Linked DNA regions of Homo sapiens: all the other regions are linked to region 5. The links are contacts of gene promoters, found by promoter capture Hi-C in blood cells and fetal thymus (Javierre and others, 2016). All regions are on one chromosome and are shown on one strand. The core of a region is centred on a gene start or on the middle of the fragment in contact, and the rest is flanking DNA. Distances in the headings are between cores, read along the strand shown. Region 1 has its middle 23 kb from the start of MAST2. Region 2 has its middle 4.6 kb from the start of MAST2. Region 3 overlaps MAST2 (microtubule associated serine/threonine kinase 2). Region 4 overlaps MAST2 (microtubule associated serine/threonine kinase 2). Region 5 holds the start of TSPAN1 (tetraspanin 1). Region 6 overlaps MAST2 (microtubule associated serine/threonine kinase 2). Region 7 overlaps IPP (intracisternal A particle-promoted polypeptide).

The links. The method cuts DNA at HindIII sites, captures the fragments that hold promoters and counts their contacts. A CHiCAGO score of 5 or more calls a contact.
Region 1: a fragment that was not itself captured here is called in contact with the fragment with the promoter of TSPAN1 in region 5 in 1 of 17 cell types (M1 macrophages); the score reaches 6.3 in M1 macrophages.
Region 2: a fragment that was not itself captured here is called in contact with the fragment with the promoter of TSPAN1 in region 5 in 1 of 17 cell types (M1 macrophages); the score reaches 5.9 in M1 macrophages.
Region 3: a contact is called between a fragment that was not itself captured here and the fragment with the promoter of TSPAN1 in region 5, in 2 of 17 cell types (M1 macrophages and M2 macrophages). The highest score is 5.2, in M1 macrophages.
Region 4: a contact is called between a fragment that was not itself captured here and the fragment with the promoter of TSPAN1 in region 5, in 2 of 17 cell types (M1 macrophages and M2 macrophages). The highest score is 5.9, in M1 macrophages.
Region 6: a fragment that was not itself captured here is called in contact with the fragment with the promoter of TSPAN1 in region 5 in 2 of 17 cell types (M0 macrophages and erythroblasts); the score reaches 6.2 in M0 macrophages.
Region 7: a contact is called between a fragment that was not itself captured here and the fragment with the promoter of TSPAN1 in region 5, in 1 of 17 cell types (erythroblasts). The highest score is 5.4, in erythroblasts.

What each region holds. Positions count from the first base shown.
Region 1 is chr1:45,779,426-45,782,311 of GRCh38, forward strand. It overlaps the pseudogene RPL6P1. Among named protein-coding and RNA genes, the nearest start is that of MAST2, 23 kb to the right of the region's middle. The HindIII fragment of the contact is 2,474 bases long and covers 152-2,625 here.
Region 2 is chr1:45,797,679-45,800,378 of GRCh38, forward strand. No RefSeq gene overlaps it. Among named protein-coding and RNA genes, the nearest start is that of MAST2, 4.6 kb to the right of the region's middle. The HindIII fragment of the contact is 2,693 bases long and covers 64-2,700 here.
Region 3 is chr1:45,820,065-45,822,944 of GRCh38, forward strand. All of the region lies in intron 1 of MAST2 (microtubule associated serine/threonine kinase 2), which reads left to right. Among named protein-coding and RNA genes, the nearest start is that of MAST2, 18 kb to the left of the region's middle. RefSeq lists a silencer at 2,380-2,580. The HindIII fragment of the contact is 3,835 bases long and covers 1-2,880 here.
Region 4 is chr1:45,842,855-45,845,600 of GRCh38, forward strand. The region is part of intron 3 of MAST2 (microtubule associated serine/threonine kinase 2); the gene reads left to right. It also overlaps the pseudogene TMA16P2. Among named protein-coding and RNA genes, the nearest start is that of MAST2, 41 kb to the left of the region's middle. The HindIII fragment of the contact is 8,479 bases long and covers 1-2,746 here.
Region 5 is chr1:46,173,731-46,176,430 of GRCh38, forward strand. TSPAN1 (tetraspanin 1) reads left to right here and starts at 1,357. Exons shown (of 9, transcript NM_005727.4): 1 at 1,357-1,679. It overlaps P3R3URF-PIK3R3 (P3R3URF-PIK3R3 readthrough), which reads right to left. Exons shown (of 10, transcript NM_001303427.2): 1 at 2,498-2,700. It overlaps P3R3URF (PIK3R3 upstream open reading frame), which reads right to left. Exons shown (of 2, transcript NM_001328655.2): 1 at 2,498-2,700; 2 at 1,756-1,899. The coding sequence ends at 1,856. It also overlaps a transcript of PIK3R3 not described here. The HindIII fragment of the contact is 4,826 bases long and covers 1-1,828 here.
Region 6 is chr1:45,863,099-45,865,813 of GRCh38, forward strand. The region is part of intron 3 of MAST2 (microtubule associated serine/threonine kinase 2); the gene reads left to right. Among named protein-coding and RNA genes, the nearest start is that of MAST2, 61 kb to the left of the region's middle. The HindIII fragment of the contact is 495 bases long and covers 1,098-1,592 here.
Region 7 is chr1:45,710,977-45,713,711 of GRCh38, forward strand. The region is part of intron 8 of IPP (intracisternal A particle-promoted polypeptide); the gene reads right to left. Among named protein-coding and RNA genes, the nearest start is that of TMEM69, 24 kb to the left of the region's middle. The HindIII fragment of the contact is 1,629 bases long and covers 488-2,116 here.

The DNA.
Region 1 (2,886 bases), core at 139-2,638, 390 kb before region 5:
ATGTTGGCAAGGCTGGTCTCGAACTCCTGACCTCAGGTGATCCACCTGCCTCAGCTTCCCAAAGTGCTGGGATTACAGGAGTGAGCCACCACGCGCGACTTGCTTTAATACTTCATAGCTGTGTAAACTAATGCTCTTTTACTGCCCATCAAGCTTTCCTACCCCATTTGTTTGGATAATAACTTGCCCCTCTTTGTCATAGGACACGTAACTCAGCCACATCTGTCATAGTATTTCATCTCCCTGGTGCAGTAATGGGTCCACAGGGCACATGTAACCCAAGAGAGCTAATCAGAATCTTTTATTGGCTTAATCTATATACTGCGAGAGAGAATCCCTCTCCTTTTTCATTGCAGGATCTTGTCTGAGATAATGTAAGCCTGGGGCTGCTGGCTACCATCTTTCCTACGGTGGAGAGAAACCAAGTAAATGAGAGAGTATTGAATAAGACAGATGCCTAGTAGTTAGTAGGCACTTAGAAAATGTTAGATTCCTTTCACCATAAGCCTTGTAAATTCAGGGCTCAGTTAAAAAATCTTACTGTTCTAGGCCAGGCACAGTGGCTTACACCTGTAATCCCAGTACTGTGGGAGGCTGAGGCGGATGGATCACCTGAGGCCAGGAGTTCACAACCAGCCTGGCCAACATGGCAAAACCCTGTCTCTACTAAAAATACGAAAATTAGCCAGACGTGGTGGCACATGCCTGTAGTCCCAGCTACTTGGGAGGCTGAAGCACTAGAATCACTTGAACCTGGGAAGCAGAGGAAGCAGAGCTGAGATTGTGCCACTGCACTCCAGCCTGAGCAACAGAGTGAGACTTGGTCTCAAAAACAAAACAAAACAAACTTACTGCTCTTGTTATTTAGCTTTGTAGATGACAAATGGTTCTTCTTGAACCTCTATTCTACCTATAGCCTTTATTTTTTATTTTCCCCAGTGAGGGAGCTAATCTAAGAGGATCCAAGGAAGTGTTAGCAGAGGAAATCTAGGAGAGGAATTTAATAGTACTGAAGACGCAGAGATAAACAAGGTAGACATAGTCCCTGTCCTCAAGGAGTTGGTCCTTTTTTTTTTTTTGAGATGAAGTCTCGCTCTGTCTCCCAGGCTGGAGTGCAGTGGTGCAATCTCAGCACACTGCAACCTCCGCCTCCCGGGTTCAAGCGATTCTCCTGCCTCAGCCTCCCAAGTAGCTGGGATTACAGGCGCCTGCCACCGTGCCCAGCTAATTTTTTTGTATTTTTAGTAGAGATGGGGTTTCGCCATGTTGGTCAGGCTCATCTCGAACTCCTGATGTCAGATGATCCACCCGTCTCAGCCTCCCAAAGTGTTGGGATTACAGGCGTGAGCCACCACACCCGGCCGGAGTTAGTACTTTAAGGGGGAGATAGATAATGACAACACCATACACAAAATGCAATGATTGAATTGTGTATTGGAGTCTGTGGGTGGGGCGGGTGAAATCATGGAGAGATGCAGGGCAGGAGAATGAAACTTTGGTCTGCATAACTGCATGCTCTATCTGCAGCACTAGCAAAGAAAAGTTCTCCAGGCAGCTGATGCTTTGATACCACATGTAAGTGCCCAGCTTCTGTTCTGCAATATAGACTGCTGCGGTGTTGACTCCTGCTAATGAGGACCTCTGAACTTTCTCTACAAATATTGTCTTTCCAGAAAACAGAGCTGGGAGACCTGTATAGCCCAAAGGCAGCTATGGCTCCCAGGGAGGAGAAGAGGACCAGAAGAACTGGTGGCAGGGCAGAGAGGGGAACCAGGCAGGAGACAGCAGTGGCTGGAGAACAGGTGTGGGCAGACTGGAAGAAATGCAGACACTTGTTTCCCATCTTGCAAGATGGTGGGTGAAAAAGTTGAGAAGCCAGATGCTAAAGAGAAGAAACCCAAAGCCAAGAAGGCTGATGTTGGTGGCAAGGTGAAAAAGGGTAACCTCAAGGCTAAAAAGCCCAAGAAGGGAAAGCCCCATTGCAGCCGCAACCCTGTCCTTGTCAGAGGAATTGGCAGGTATTGCCGATCTGCCATGTATTCCAGAAAGGCCATGTACAAGAGGAAGTACTCAGCCGCTAAATCTAAGGTTGAAAAGAAAAAGAAGGAGAAGGTTCTTGCAACTGTTACAAAACCAGTTGGTTGTGACAAGAATGGCGGTGCCCGGGTGGTTAAACTTCGCAAAATGCCTAGATATTATCCTACTGAAGATGTGCCTCGAAAGCTGTTGAGCCATGGCAAAAAATCCTTCAGTCAGCACGTGAGAAAACTGCGAGCCAGCATCACTCCCGGGACCATTCTCATCATCCTCGCTGGATGCCATAGGGGCAAGAAGGTGGTTTTCCTGAAGCAGCTGGCTAGTGGTTTGTTACTTGTGACTGGACCTCTGGTCCTCAATCGAATTCCTCTACGAAGAACATACCAGAAATTTGTCATTGCCACCTCAACCAAAATTGATATCGGCAATGTAAAAATCCCCAAACATCTTATTGATACTTACTTCAAGAAGAAGAAGCTGTGGAAGCCCAGACACCTGATGTTGTTGGTGGATAGGAATGCTAGTGCTTTCTGCTAGTGATTGATTTTGTATCCTGAAACTTTGCTGAAGTTGTTTATCAGCTTAAGAAGCTTTTGGGGCCAAGCGAGGTGGCTCACACCTGTAATTCCAGCACTTTGGGAAGCCGAAGTGGGCGGATCACGAGGTCAGGAGATCGAGACCATCCTGGCTAGCATGGTGAAACCCCGTCTCTACTAAAAATACAAAAAATTACCTGGGCATGGTGGTGGGCGCCTGTAGTCCCAGCTACTCAGGAGGCTGAGGCAGGAGAATGGCATGAACCTGGGAGGTGGAGCTTGCAGTGAGCTGAGATAGCACCCCTGCACTCCA
Region 2 (2,700 bases), core at 160-2,659, 380 kb before region 5:
GGGCTGCTTGTTTCCCTGGGAGATGACTGTGCTTTGCATGGGACATGAAAAAGTGAAGGACTAAGCTTCAATTATGGGAACTCTGGCCTGGGCATCCTTGACTGAGCTTAGTACTGAGGGAAATTGTCCTCCTTCAAAAAAATCTCTGTTGAATCAGAAGGACCTTTCTTGAAAGTAATGTTATGTGGTTTGTGTTAGTCTGCTTGGGCTACCATAACAAAAGAACACAGATTAGGTGGCTTAAACAACAGAAATTTATTTTTTTCACAGTTCTAGAGGCTGAACATCCAAAATCAAGGTTCTAGCCAATTTGGATTCTGGTGGGGGCACTCTTCCTGGCCCATAGACAGCTGTCTTCTCACTATGTTCTCACATGGCCCTCCTCAGTACATGTGCCTCGAGAGAGGGTGAGTGCTCTGGTGTCTCCGCTTATAAGGACATTAATCTCATAGGATTAGGGCCCTACCCTTAAAACCTCATTTAAGTTTAATTACTTCCTTAGAGGCCTCATCTCCAAATACAGCCACACTAGGTGTTAGGACTTTGACGTACAAATCTGGGGGAGACACAAACATTCAGTCCATAATATGGTCCCAGGGAGCAAAGATGCCAATGGACTGATCTAATTATAGCTGAATTTGGCTATGGAAGTTGGACTGATCTTCCTGAAGTAGATTTCAAAGACAGCCACAAGTTCTTCCCCTCCCTGAATCTATTCCCCCTTGCCATGTAACTTTAGTCCCTGGCCACACTGACTTGCTTTGGCAATGACACAGTTGCTAATGTGGCATCAACAGAGATTTGAAAAGTGCTTTCACATTGCGGCTCGCTGTCTCTTCCTCCTCACAGGACCCCCTACCACTGCTGTCATGTGAAGAAGTCCAAGTAAGCCTGAAGGATGGTGAGAGCTATATGGGTTAGTCATTCCCACTGCCATGGCCAATGGCCTGCCAATTGCCATATGTGTGACAGAAGCCATTTTAGATGACTTAGCCACCAGCCAGCCAGCCCTCAGCCGACTGCAGATGCATAAGCAAGCCTAGCAGTGATTAGATAAACTGGACCAGACCATAAGAACTGCCCAGTTGGCTCACAAAAATGTCAGCTAAATAAATGGTTGTTGTTTTAAGCCACAAGTTTTGAGACAGTTTGTTATATGACAATAGATAACTGCTATACTTACCTTTTTTTTTTTGAGACAGGGTCGCATTCTGTCACCCAAGCTGGAGTGCAGTTGTGTGATCTTGGCTGACTACAACCTCCATCTCCCACGCTCAAGTGATCCTCCCACTTCAGCCTCCTGAGTAGCTGGGACTACAGGCATGTGCCACCATGCCCAGCTAGTTTTTGTATTTTTTGTAGAGATGGGGTTTTGCCATGTCACCTAGGCTGGTCTCAAAAATCTTGAGCTCAGGGGGGAGGGGGAAGGGATAGCATTAGGAGATATACCTAATGCTAAATGACGAGTTAATGGGTGCAGCACACCAGCATGGCACATGTATACATATGTAACTAACCTGCACATTGTGCACATGTACCCTAAAACTTAAAGTATAATAATAATAATAATTTTAAAAAAAATCTTGGGCTCAAGTGATCATCCCACCTTGGCCTCCTAAAGTTCTGGATTACAGGTGTGAGCCACGGTGCCCAGCCCATACTTAACTTTTAGAATATAAAACAATTTTGGAGTTCTTAGATAATTAAGGAGGAGATACTAGGCTTCCTAATAATATGACATAAGGGGCCTAACTAGAATAAGGAAAAGTAATGTGATCACATTTATATTCTAAGAGTATGGTATTGTTCATATCGGTTAAACATCTAACTATGGGTGGCCCTCAGTTCTGAGCTCTACACTGGTGTAACCAGTAGCTTACTAGACATCTTCACTTGGATATCTCACTGGCACTTCAGAGCAAACACATCTAAAATGGAATTGACCATAATCTGTTTCACACTTTTTTTCCCTCTTCTGTTCCCTACCTCAGTTGTCCAAGCCAGAAACTTGGAAATCATTCTTAGGGCTTTTTCTTTCTCTCTGCACCTTTGATGCAGTTAACAGGTCCTGTGGTTTCTACTTTCTGGATCTCTCTAAAGTCCACCTGTGTTCGTCCGTCCCCGTTATCATTGTCTCAGTACTAGTCACTAACACCTCTCCCTCAGCTAATTATAATATCCTACTAATTTGCACAGGATTTGCCAGTGGAGTGGATATGAAGTATGTGAGAAAGAGAGAACTCAGGGATCACTCCGAGGTTTTGGCCTGAGCAACTGAAAAAAAAAATTGACTTGTCACTTATTGAGCTGGTGAAGACAAGTATAAAAGTGGATGTGGGGCCGGGCGTGGTGGCTCACGCCTGTAATCCCAGCACGTTAGGAGGCCGAGGTGGGCAGATCACCTGAAGTCAGGAGTTCAAGACCAGCCTGGCCAACATGGAGAAACCCGTCTCTACTAAAAATACAAAAATTAGGCGGGTGCAGTGGCATGCGCCAGTAATCTTAGCTACTTGGAGGCTGAAGCAGGAGAATCACTTGAACCTGGGAGGCGGAGGTTGTGGTAAGTGGAGATTGAGCCATTGCACTTCCAGCCTGGGTGACAGAGTAAGACTCCATCACAAAAAAAAAAAAAGAAAAAAAAAGTGGATGTGGGCCACATTGTGTCACATTGCCATTTCTGGCTGATGGGAGGCTGAGAAA
Region 3 (2,880 bases), core at 62-2,561, 350 kb before region 5:
AGAGGTGCCAAGAACATACTTTGGTAAAAGGACAGTCTGTACAATAAATGGTTCTCGGAAAACTGGAAATCTATATGCAGATATCTACATGCAGAAGAGTGAAACTAGATCCCTATCTCTTCCCATATACAAAAATCAAAAATGTATTAAAGATTTAAATCTTAAACTGCAAACTCTGAAACTACTAAAAGAAAACTTTGGGGAAACTTGCTAGGACATTGGTTTGGGCAAAAATTTCTTGAGCAATAAATACCCCACATGCAGAGGCAACCAAAGCAAAACTGGATCAAGGGGATCTTTTCTCACTTCCTTTTGTGTGTGTTTTTTAGAATTTTTTTTTGGTTGCTATGGGGATTACATGTAACATACTAAATTTATAACAGTCTAGTTTGAAATGGTACCAGTTTAACTTCTGTAGTATACAAAAACTTTATTCCTGTATAGCTCCATTTCCTTGATAAGTTGTTTTTGTGGCAGATTACATCTTTATTCATTGTGTGCTAAATATCATAGATTTATAATTTTTTAATGCTTTTGTCTTTTAAGTCATATAGGGAAAAAAGGTGGAGCTGAAAAACAAAAATAGAATAATACTGGCTGTGATATTTGTCCATATGGTTACCTTTGCTGGGGATCTTTATTTTTTATTTTTTGGATCTTCATTTTTTCAGATGGCCTTAAGTTTCTGTTTAGTGTCCTTTCATTTCAACTTGAAGATGCCTTTTAGGATTTGATGTAGAACATATGTAGTGGTGATGGACTCTGTCTGCTTTTTTTTTTTTTTTTCTTAATCTGAAAATGCCTCGATTTCAATTTCTCTTTCTTTCTCTTTTTTTTTTTTTTTTTTTTTTTTGAGTCAGAGTCTTGCTCTGTTTCCCGGGCTGGAGTGTAGTGGTGCAATCTTGGCTCACTGCAGTGTTGACCTCCTGGGCTCAAGCAATTTTCTTGCCTCATCCTCCTGAGTAGCTGGGACCACAGGTACATGTCACCATGCCCAGCTAACTTTTATGTGTTTTGCAGAGACAGAGTTTCGCCATGTTGCCCAGGCTGATCTCAAACTCCTGGGCTCAAGCAATCTCCCTACCTTGGCCTCCCAGAGTGTTGGGATTACAGGTGTGAGCCACTGCACCCAGCCTTTATTTTTTCCTCATTTTTGAAGGACAGTTATGCTCAAGATAGAATTCCGTATGTCATCCTACTCACTTCTGGACTCCACAGTTCTGATGAGATATGAGCTGTTCGTCTGATTCAGGATCTCCTGTATTTGACAAGTTGCTTTTCTCTTGCTGCTTTGAATATTATTTCTTTGCCATTGGCTTTGACAGTTTGGTTATCATGTGTCTCCATATGAACCTTTTTGAATTTAACCTGCTTAGAAGTCACGGAGCTTCTTGGATGTGTAGATTTGTATCTGTCATCACATTTGGGAAGTTTTGGTATGTTATTTCTTCTTTTTTTTTTTTTTTTTTTTTTTGAGACAGAGTCTCGTTCTGTTACCCAGGCTGAAGTGCAGGGCAGGATCTTGGCTCGCTGCAACCTCTGCCTCTTGGGTTCAAGTCATAACTGTGCCTCAGCCTCCCGAGTAGCTGGAACTACAGGCATGCACCACCACGCCAGCTGATTTTTGTATTTTTATTAGAGACGGGGTTTCACCATGTTGGCCAGGCTGGTCTCAAACTCCTAACCTCATGATCTGCCCGCCTTGGCCTCTCAAAGTGCTGGGATTACAGGCGTGAGCCATGGTGCCCGGCCTCTTCACATGTTCTTACTGCCCCCTTCTCTTCTAGAATTCCCATATTCATATATTGTTTCACCTTCACCTTTTTTTTTTTTTTTTTTTTGGTGACAGAGTGTTGCTCTGTCACCCAGCCTGGAGTGCAGTGGTGTGATTTCTGCTCACTGCAACCTCCACCTCCCAGGTTCACGCGATTCCTGTGCCTCAGCCTCCCAAGTAGCTGGGATTACAGGCACGTGCCATCACGCCCAGCTAATTTTTGTATTTTTAGTAGAGATGGGGTTTTGCCATGTTGGCCAGGCTGGTCTTGAACTCCTGACCTCAAATGATCCACCCACCTCAGCCTCCCAAAGTTCTGGGATTACAGGCATGAGCCACCGTGCCTGGCTATTTTCAGTGTTTTAATCTTGATGCTGCTTAGTGGGTCTGTTCAATTTGTGAAAATTCATTGAGTTCTATGCTTAGGTATGTGTACTTTTCTAAAATGAGTAATGTACTTCAGTAAAAGTTAAAAATCCTAGCTTAAAAGTTCAAATTTCATATTTAATTTATATTTCCTTTCCTTTGCCAGGTTTTGACTCGAAGAGACTTGCAGTAAGAAGGGGTGTGATCCTCTCTTTCTTTTCTCCTCTCCTCTGTTATCTGGTTTCTTTACTTTGGTGTCTTGTGGGAAGGAATAGGGAAATTGAAAAGTGTATGTGTTTCTCTTAATTGGTACTGATCAAATTCTTTCTTGATTGTTCTTTCTCTGGCTAAGACGGATTATTCATCCATACAGTGTAGCAGGCATCCAAATGCTGGTTCTCCCATGCAGCTGGTTGTAAGTTTTTTTGAGATAGGATCTTTCCCTCTCCACATTGTCTTCATAGAGGATATCCACTTTAGCTTGATGTCTTCCAAGGCCTCCTCAGTTCTCTCTACCTAGAGCTTCTTGCTGTGCTTGTCACCTTTGTGAGTGGCCAACCCTCTTTAATGGATTACCAGCATTAGTCCAAAGTCTGCTTCCTTCCCTGGTTTCTCCTTGATCCATAGGTACTGTTTCATCCTTGACATGCCAAATAGTGCAAATACAAGCTGTTCCCTTGCTACCTTCTGTTTTTGCATTAAGTTCTATTTCCTGTTCCCCGTCTCACTGCTCAGTCCTG
Region 4 (2,746 bases), core at 215-2,714, 330 kb before region 5:
CAAACTGTTTTCTGTAATAGCTTACCATTTTACAGTTCCACTAGCAATGTACTGAAGGTTTCAGTTTCTCTATATCTTTGTCAACTTGTTATATTCCATTTAAAAAATTATTGTTTAGTTATACTATCCTGGTGAGTATGAAGTGGTACCTCATTGTGGTTTTGATTTGTAGTTCTGTAATGACTAATGATGTTGAGCATCTTTTCATGTGTTTTTTGACCATTTATATATCTTCTTTGGAAAAATGTCTATACAAGTCCTTTGCCCATTTTTTTTAATTGAATTTTTTTGTTGTTTTAAGTTTGTTATATATTCTGGGTATTAGACCCTTAGTTATATGATTTCCAAATTTTTTTCCTGTTCTGTGTGTTGTCTTTTTAGTTTGTTGGTAATGTCCTTTGAAGTTTAAAAATGCCCTTGATGAAGTCTAACTTATCTGTGTTTTTCTGTTATTGCTTATGCTTTTGGTTTCATATCTAAGAATCCATTGCCAGCTCCAAGGTCATGATTTACTTCTGTGTTTTCTTCTATGAATTTTATGGTTTTACTTCTTATATTTACTTCATCGACCCATTTTGAGTCAGTTTTTATATTCAGTGTGAGGCAAGAGTTTATTTTTTTGCATGTGGATATCACTTTTTAGGTATCCTTTCAAGAGTTAGATGTCCAGAGTAAAGTACAGCAGTTTAGGGCTATAGATGTGGACTTGGAAGCTGTGGATTAAATCACCATGGGAGAGAGTAAAGAGAAATAAAAGGAATGTAGGGGAACATGAAAAAATTACATGTGAAAGGATAGATAATGTTAGACAGTGAAGTATTCAACTTAGATAAGAACTGTAGGAGTTTAGATAAAGTGCATTCACTTGAGAATTGCTGTCCTTTTCACTCTTAGTTTTTCTTTTTGTAAGAGGAACTTGTTTCTAATGCCATCTAGTGTCTTTTGAAGGGTATATGAGTAATGTTAAGAGGTTTTAAAATAAAAGTTTTGAAATTTCATGAGACTTGAGCAGTATATTGGCAGTCTTAGCTTACTCTCAAGAGCATCCTTAAGAGAGAAGTAAAAGAACACATTAAATACTTTGCCTGAACAAATTCGGAGCTGAATTTCATCTTGAATAGTTAAGCATTTTTATCATCTCTTTTGTGTTAATTTGTAAAGAATTTAAGATACCTTAAAAATAGTGACGTCAAATTTTTTTCTTATCTTGAATTTGTCTTACAAAAATTATAGACAGCCTTACTTTTTTTTGTTTTTGTTTTTGAGACAGGATCTTGCTCTGTCACCCAGGCTGGAGTGCAGTGGTGCAACCTTGGCTCACCGCAGTGTCAACCTGCTAGGGTCAAGTGATTCTCCTGCCTCAGCCTCCTGAGTAGTTGGGACTACAGGCATGGGCCACGATGCCTGGCTAATTTTTATTTTTATTTATTTTTAAACTTTTATTTATTTATTTTTTGAGACAGAGTTTCACTCTTGCTGCCCAGGCTGGAGTGCAGTGACTCACTGCAACCTCCGACTCCCAGGTTCAAGTGATTCTCCTGCTTCAGTTTCCTGAGTAGCTGGGATTACAGGCGCCTGCCACCATGCCCAGCTAATTTTTTGTATTTTTAGTAGAGATGGTGTTTCACCATGTTGGCCAGGCTGGTCCCAAACTCCTGGCCTCAAGTGATCCACCTGCCTCGGCTTCCCAAAGTGCTGAGATTATAGGTGTGAGCCACCGCGGCCAGCTTAATTTTTATTTTTAAACTTTTTGTAGAGGTGGGATTTTACAGTGTTTCCCAGTTTGGTCTCGAACCCCTGGGCTCAAGCAATCCTGCCTCAGACTTCAAACTATCGGGATTACAGTTGTGAGCCACTGCACCTGCCAAGCATCTAAATTTTTAAAAGGCATTTAAAATAAAAAATTTTTTTAGATAAATTTGTTGGTTGATTGGTTTGTTCGTCCGTTTTGTGCTGCTATGACAGAATACTCGAAACTGGGTAATTTATAAGGAATCAAGGTTTATTTCTTAGAGTTCTTGGGGCTCAGAAGCCCAAGATCAAGGTACCAGCATCTGATGAGGGCTTTCTTGGTGTTTCCTCACGTGGCAGAAGGTGGAAGGGCAATAGAGAAGAAATCCATTCCTGTAAGCCCTTTTTATAGTGACATTAATCCATTCATGAGAACAGAGCTTTCATGACTTAAACACCTCTCAAAAGGCCAAATCTCCCACCACTGTTGCATTGGAAATTAAATTTCCAGCACATGGATTTTGGGGAACACATTCATACCATAGCAGTTGAGGTTACAGAAAGAGATCTTACTGAATTTGTTGATGGTTAGAATACATGGGAGAACGTTTATGCAAGTTTTTGGTAAGGTGTCATATATGTCAAGGAGAACGGCATTATTAAACCACTAGTAAAAAGTTATAAGAGCAGGTTTTGTTTTTACTCTTATACAAAAAATATCAGTGCTAGTCTTTTTGTTTTTTTCCTTTTTCTTTTTTGAAATTGCAGAAATAAATTTTATTTTTAATTTTCAGAGGTTAAAAAAAGTTATGATACTTTAAACTGTTAACAAGACTTAGTTGATATCCAGTTAACCTAATACAGCATTAATGTTTTTATTATTTTCTTGAAGAGACTCAAATACACCTGCATTGTGCTCTTTTAAAAACATATTAAGGATACTTGTATTTAACAAGTTTTTTAGGAAAAACATTGTACAACATTTATGTTTTTCATGATGCTGAAAATGCTGAAT
Region 5 (2,700 bases), core at 107-2,606:
CAGCTAAAAATAGCTGGAAGAGATGATGTCATCTGGTTCCCACAGCTTAGCACCCCCATCATACACACACTCGAGCACAAACACACACTCTCACAGACACAGATACACACAGACACAAGTGTGGGCATGAGTGCATGCACACACACATACTACACACTCATATAGGGGAGGGAGGCTTCTGGGTCCCAGGGCCGCAGGGGCAGGGAAGTCTGGTGAGTGTGTCTGCATGCGTGTATGTCTGTGTGTGCCTGGGTTTGCATGAGTGTGAAGGCATGTGTCTGCATCTGGGTGCTTGTGTGCTTGTGTCTGGGTGCATGCATGTTTCTGTCTGTGTTCATTTAGAGGCATGCGTATGTGTTGTTACATATATCGTGTGGGGATCTATGCATTTGTGTCTGCGTATATCTGCTTATAGTATGTGCTTGCATGCATGTGTGTGGTTGTTGCAGTATGTGTCTATGAGTTCACTTATATTTACATGTCTGCATGTGTTTGTGAACTGTGTCATGTATCTTTATATGTATGGCCCCTCTTGGGCCCTTGAGCATGGCCCAAGCACCTTCTAGCTTTGACTGATGTTCAGCAACCCCCATCCCATAACCTGAGGAGCCCAGCACCGTCTGGGCATGGTGTGTCAGTGAATTCTCTGCCTCAACCCCCCTCAGGGTCCCAGTCTCTGGCAAGAGTTGGGGTAGATAGACATAAGCACAATTCACTTTCCCTTCACAGGCAGCAAAGGACATTAGCCACACTTCCTGAACCCCAGGGGGCCAGGCCACCAAAGGTCTCAGGGTTCACTCCCTTCCCTAGCCCCTTGGGAAGGTAGCCTGGAAATGCAGCCAGATCTCGGACCGGTGCAACACGTATTAGCCCATGCATGATGCAACATATTCGAGACAGAGTCCTACAAAATGTTCCCAGCGACTAAGACACAACCCCACAGAAACCCGGTTACAGCCAGTGACACATGAGCACACACTCAGAAATCCAAATGGAAAATCCCCAGGCCAGAGAGCTTAGCACCCTCCCTACTTTCTGGGCTCAAACTCAGTCTTGCCCCACCCCTAAGCACCCCAGCTCAGCTGCCAGTTCTGGAAAACACTGACCTCAGAGAATGGTTGAAGGGCCGAAGGTAGTATGCCTTTCTCAGAATCTCACCCTTCTCCATGTTCTCCTCCTTTAGGCTGTTCCCCATCCCCCTCCTGACCTTCACTTTTCTTACCAGGGCTGATGTCCTCTCCGGCACACCCATACCCTCACAAACGCTCCTTGACACTCACAGTCAGTCACAGAGGCACATTAAATCACAAAGGCACATTCAGCCACATCTACTGATACTCCTATTCTCCCGGCCTCAGACACACACACCAGCAGCTACACCTACACGCTGACCATCACAGGCACACAGAGGCACATCCACCTCACATCCACCTCATACTTGTGTACTCTCAGGGTTCAGTCTTTCATCCTATCCCTCTCTGATCTGTGCCTCCCAATACCTTCCAAGATGTTTACAGAGACCCTTCTCCCTGTGCAGTTAGGAGTGTAAGGCAAGAGAGCCCCTACTTCATGGGGCAGATCAAGAGCTGAGACCAAAGATGGTCTATGTTGCTGACCTTGTCCTGTCCTCCTGCTGTCTTAAACTATGATCCCTGCTGCGGTCACTGAAGCCTTTCCCTGTAAGTATTCAGCCATAACCCTCCCCTCACGCCCTGCATAGTCAGCTGGTTAACACCTCTGTGTGGAATAAGGCAGTTTGAGCAGAATGACTGTATTTGTTGTTCACCACCCACACGGCCCCTAGGAGATGCAGGTCCAGGGCAAACCAAGCTTCTGGGCTAGCTTCTGGGCACTTCTAGAGGATCAGAAAAATCCCAGGTTGCCTGAGATGTCTGAGAACTGAGGAGAGGAAGGAGAGGGAAGAGTTTGAGGAAGGAAGCAGTTCTGGAAGTTCCCTGCCTCTTGGATTCAGCCCCTCCCCAAACCCTCTGCTTCCAGCCAATCCATCCTCCATTAAGGCTGTCAGCACTTTGGGGTGCCTGCCATCAGGAGTCCCCCATATATGTAGGGGTGCTATTTCACAGAGATCATCCTTTGGCGTGCCTAAACAGAACCAGGTAGGGAAATCTTCACTGGCTCTGGTTTTTTTTTTTTTTTCTTGAGACAGAGTCTAGCTCTGTCACCCAGGCTGGAGTGCAGTGGCGCGATCTTGGCTCACTGCAACCTCTGCCTCCCGGGTTCAAGCAATTCTCCTGCCTCAGCCTCCCAAGTAGCTGGGACTAAAGGCGTGTGCCACCACGCCCGGCTAATTTTTTTTTGTATTTTTAGTAGAGATGGGATTTCACCGTGTTAGCCAGGATGGTCTCGATCTCCTGACCTTGTGATCTGCCCGCCTTGGCCTCCCAAAGTGCCGGGATTACAGGCATGAGCCACCGCACCCAGCCTAGTGGCTCTGTTTTTTAAAACCCCACCCTGGCTCACAGGCCCCCTGGCTAACCTTGAGGTGGGAAGATCCACACTATGGTGGTGTCAGTGTGGGTGTTGTTGATACCCATGGCCCTGGTGGCAGGATTGATGGCTGCACTGCTGGCAGTTCGACCTCGGAGACCCTGTTGATATCTTCTGCGGCTACACTTGAACATCCTGGGAAATCGGGGCCTGGGCCAGCCCATACCTGGCCTGCGGTAGGGGGAACGCATG
Region 6 (2,715 bases), core at 95-2,594, 310 kb before region 5:
TCTTGAATTAGTAAATGAATAAAGAGTTTGAATTTTGAATCTTTTGTCTGAATAGCTTCTCAGAATGCATCTTTTTTATATTTTTACTGATTACCGGGTTGAATAAATTAGAAGCCACTCCTACTTCCTCTCTGCTGATACATATGTTTTAGCTAGTTAAACCTATTTTGATAGAGGAGTTCTATGACTTTAAAGGCCTATGACTTTGCAGACACTCATACAGTGTACAGCATACCCTATGCAAATCAGCTGTCTGTTCAGGTCTTGTGTTTGTTTTCCCCATAGACATAATCCAGCCGTTAGTTATTCAAAGCAGCAGATGGGAGAAGGAATCCGTGGAAATGTGGATTTATTAGCTCTCACAATGAAAGACCACACTGGTTATGCTAAGGATTAGAAGATTTCTGCTGAATGAAAGGGACATGGATCCTGTTTTTTGTGCTATTTTCAGCAGTGTGGCAATTTCTTATGACTATAATCAGTTGTAAAAAGACCAGAAAATGATCTTGTAAATAGACTTTCCTTCAAGCCCTAGACTGTTGGTTGCAGCTGTCATAATTATAGGAGGGACTGCTTTTCTTCCTTTTTGGGTGCAGACTGAATCTGGCCTTTAGCTATTGCTATATTTACACCTTAGGTAGTATAACTGGCTGATTGTGTGCTTTATACATACCTTTATCTGTCAAATTAGGGAATTTGGATTCGTGTCTCCTGAATTTTGTAGGAGAGTAATTATTGTAGCATGTCTTATAGTTTGGAAAAAATGATTGAATTTAATGTGTTAAACTCACTTCCTAAAAATATAATGCTGCCTTCACTAACAATTTTGTGTGTGTGACTTGTTAGAAAGATCAGCAACTTTCCTTTGTGTTTACTAAGATTCTGACAATTACCATAAAGTTGGAAAGTTTAAACGTTGCTTATGGAGTGTGTAAGGAACAGAATCATATCATGAGAACAATCTTTCACTCTTAAAATCTAAAAGATTATGTATTTTGAGCCATGAATTAAGAAACAGAAGCATCTTTAAACTTGGCTGAAGTTCTACTTTAAAAATGGCAGCCAGTAACCAAAGAAACAATTCTTGAGATCATTAAAGCTTGGATAAAATGAGACTTTTTCATGCTGTGCCCTTTTAGAAGTCTGGGGGAATGGGGAGCGTTTCCTGTGACAGCACTGTAAGTGATAAACAGCTGAATGAATTTGTCCATGCTCAGAACTCACAACACGTGGACTAGCCCCCTCCTGCACATAAAAGAGCAGGGAAACCGACCTTAGCAATGATCTAGCTCCTGAAGAAAGAGGCTTTCGTTACTGTCCAAGAAGTGAAGACCAGTGAGTCTAGCGATAAAGAAACAAAAGAGCCCCTGACAGTATCGAAAGAATCTGACATTTGCTTTGTCTGTACAAAGGATGAAAGGAATTTTGCCGACTTAGTCAAAACAATAACTGGTTTTATATCATTTTGAGTCTAAAATACAGGCATCAGAATCGTATGTTTTTCTTTGTATTTCTGAAGAATTGTCATCTTTTTAAAAACGTATGTGGAGTGGTTTTGTTTCTGGAAAGGAAAACGTGACATGGATTTTATAAGCTTAGTAGCTGTAGGTGGAGACTCTTGTTTTGTTTGCTAAACCTTTTTAATAAGCAGCAAAGTCAGGATATCAAAGATTGGAATTTTTCCCCCGGAACCTTTTGTTCTTTTCTTAGTACTTCAAATAATTTCAACCAAAGGGGTATGCATGGAAAATGAAAACAAATATGAAGTCTTTCCGCTATTTGGCAGTGCTTCAGATGAGATGTATCTATACTTCTGTGAAGAAAGACGTGATTCTGATATGAGGCAGTGATTGTATACTTACGCTGGACAGAGGGATAACTGGTTTAGTGGAACAGTGGGTTAGTGGTGTGCTGAAAGGATTGTTTGCCTCTTTATCCAGCAGTAAGTAGGCACTAGTAGTTGACTGTCTGGGGAGTGGCTTTTTTTTGTCTGATATCTATTATGGATGATTCCAGTATTCTGAGAAGGAGAGGGTTACAGGTGAGTAAAAGAAAACCTTTTTCACTGATCTCCTTCCTTTTAATGTCTCTTGTAAATGTACTGAACAGATTGTTATAATGTATTTAATTCATTTGAGGTAGGAGGCAGAGTGGAGTGCAGCTAAGTTCCTCTTTATTCTTTGATGTATAGTTATAATTAGAGAACTTATCTAAAATCTTGCTATTTTGATAGAAAAATGCTGCTTGGGCTTATTTACACTGTATTTAGTGAGTAGAGCAACTAAATCAGACCTGTATGGGATACAAGCCTAATTTAGAACATTAGACATTACTGCTGACAGATTGTTTACGGTGAACATATTCTGTTCCTGACCACCATGCCTGATCTGCCCACCATTAAGTCACATGTATGGTAGTATATGCTTGATTCTATGCATAGTTTTAAGAACTTTTCTAAATTATCACTTGGCATATACACATTCCATCCACTTATCTATTGTCTGTCTGTGTTGTCTGTCCATCCATCCGTCTGTCTGTCTACCTACCTACCTACCTACCATCTTTTCCTTCTTAAATCATAGGTAGTTTGTTAGATGAAGAGGTATGTAAGATATAACAGTGAATGAAAATAGACTGATAGGCAACCTTCAACTGAGTTTTAATGAATATCCTTAGCACTAAAAGAATACATGCCAAATTTGATGATTATTTTTT
Region 7 (2,735 bases), core at 52-2,551, 460 kb before region 5:
CCACTGCACTCTAGCCTGGGTGACAGAGCGAGACTCCGTCTCAAAACAAACAAACAAAAAAAAAAAGACCACAACTGGCTGGGTGCAGTGGCTCACGCCTATAATCCTAGCACTTTGGGAGGCCGAGGTGGGTGGATCCCGAGGTCAGGAGATGGAGACCATCCCAGCCAACATGGTGAAACCCCATCTCTACTAAAATAGAAAAGAAAAAAAAAATTAGCCAGGCATGGTGGCGGGTGCTTGTAGTCCCAGCTACTCGGGAGGCTGAGGCAGGGAATTGCTTGAACCTGGGAGGCGGAGGTTGTAGTGAGCCAAGATCACGCCATTGCACTTCAGCCTGGCAACAGAGTGAAAACTCCGTCTCAAAACAAAAAACAAAAAAAACCAGACCACAACTATGTGCTGTCTAGAAGTGCAGTTTGTAAAGACACAGAAGTAGAAGGAAAGAAGAAGATAAAATATACCATGAAAACACTAATGAAAAGAAAGCTTAGAGGCTGGGTGCAATGGCTCACACCTGTAATCCTAGCACTTTGGGAGGCCAAGGTGGGCAGATCACTTGAGGTCAGGAGTTTGAGACCAGTCTGGCCAACACGGCAAAACCCCATCTCTACTAAAAATACAAAAAGTAGCTGGGTGTGGTGGCACATGCCTGTATTCCCAGCTACGTGGGTGGTTGAGGCACAAGAATCGCTTGAACCCAGGAGACAGAGGTTGCAGTGAGCTCTGATCATGCCACTGTACTCTAGCTTAGGCGTCAGAGTAAGACTCTGTCACAAAAAAAAAAAAAAAAGTAGACTTCAGTATAAAGAATATTACCAGAGATAAAAATCAAAGAATCCATTCATTAAGAAGACATAATAAACTTAATGGGTACGCATCTAATAATGGATCTTCAAAATATGTGAAGCTAAACCTGACAGAAATGAAAGGAGAAACAGACAAATCCATAATTATAGATGGACATTCCAACACTCCTTTTTTAAAAACTGACAGAACAATTGTGCAAGTAGGACAGACAAGGGAAGATCTGAATGACACTAAAAAACCAACTTGAGGCCAGGAGTGGTGGCTTACACCTGTAATTCCAGCACTTTGGAAGGCCGAGTCGGGTGGATTGCTTGAGGTCATGAGTTCGAGACCAGTCTGGCCAGCATGGTGAAACCCTGGCTCTACTAAAAAAATACAAAAATCAACCAGGCATGGTGGCGCGTGCCTGTAATCCCAGCTACTCGGGAGGCTGAGGCAGGAGAATCACTTGAACCTGGGAGGCCAAGTTTGCAGTGAGCTGAGCAGCCTGGTGACTGAGCAAGACGACGTCTAAAAAAAAAAAAAAAAGCAACCAACTTGACTTAATGGACATTAGAACACCACATTCAACAATAGCAGAATACAAATTCTTTTCAGATGTACATGACGTATTAATAAGACAGAAGCAATACAAAATATGTTTTCTGATTATAATAGAAATAAATTAGAAGTCAATAATAAAAGATTTATCTGGAAAATCCCCACATATTTTTAAATTAAATAATGTTGTTCTTACAACCCATTAGTCAAACAAGAAATTACCAGAAAAATTTAAAAAAGAAAAAAAAGGCCGGGCACGGTGGGCTCATGCCTGTAATCCCAGCACTTTGGGAGGCCGAGGCAGGAAGATCACGAGGTCAGGAGATCGAGACCATCCTGGCTAACATGGTGAAACCCTGTCTCTACTAAAAATACAACAAAAATTAGCCAGGCGTAGTGGCGGGCATCTGCAGTCCCAGCTACTGGAAGGCTGAGGCAGGAGAATGGCGTGAACCCAGGAGGCGGAGCTTGTAGTGAGCCCAGATCACACCACTGTACTCCAGCCTGGGTGACAGAGACTCTATCTCAAAAAAAAAAAGAAAAAAAAAAAAAATATATATATATATACACACCATCCGCCTTGGGCTCCCAAAGTGCTGGGTTTACAGGCATGTGCCACCACACCTGACCTAAAAAATATTTTAATATAAATGCCAACTAATTAAAAGGCAACATATCAAAATATGTGGGATGAAATTAAAGCAGTGCTTGAAGAGAATTTACAGTTTCTATTATAGAAAAAGGAAGGTCTAAAATCGATCATCTAAGCTTCCACTTTAAGAATCTAGAAAAAAAGAGCTGAGATTGTTGGGATTTGGGGAGCGCAGTGGCTCCGAAAGATCTGTAATGCCAGTGCTTTGGGATGCCAAGGCAGGAGAATCGCTTAAGACCAGGAGTTTGAGATCAGTCTGGGTTACATAGCGAGACCCTAACCATAGAAAAAAAAAAATTCAGCTGGGTGCAGTGGCTCATGCCTGTAATCCCAGCACTTTGGGAGGCTGAGGCGGGCGGATCACCTGAGGTAGGGAGTTCGAAACCAGCCTGACCAACATAGAGAAACCCCGTCTCCACTAAAAATATAAAACTAGCCAGGTATGGTGGCGCATGCCTGAAATCCCAGCTACTCAAGAGGTTGAGGCAGGAGAATTGCTTGAACCCAGGAGGCGGAGGTTGTGGTGAGGTGAGATGGTGCCACTGCACTCCAGCTTGGGCAACAAAAGAAAAACTCCGTCTCAAAAAAAAAAAATTACTCTTTTGAGAGAGGGTCTCTTGCTGTTACCGAGGCTGGAGCACAATGGCTTGATCACAGCTCACTGCAGCCTTGACCTCCTAGGCTCAAGTGATCCTCCCACCTCATCCCCCTGAGTAGCTAGAACCACAGGTGC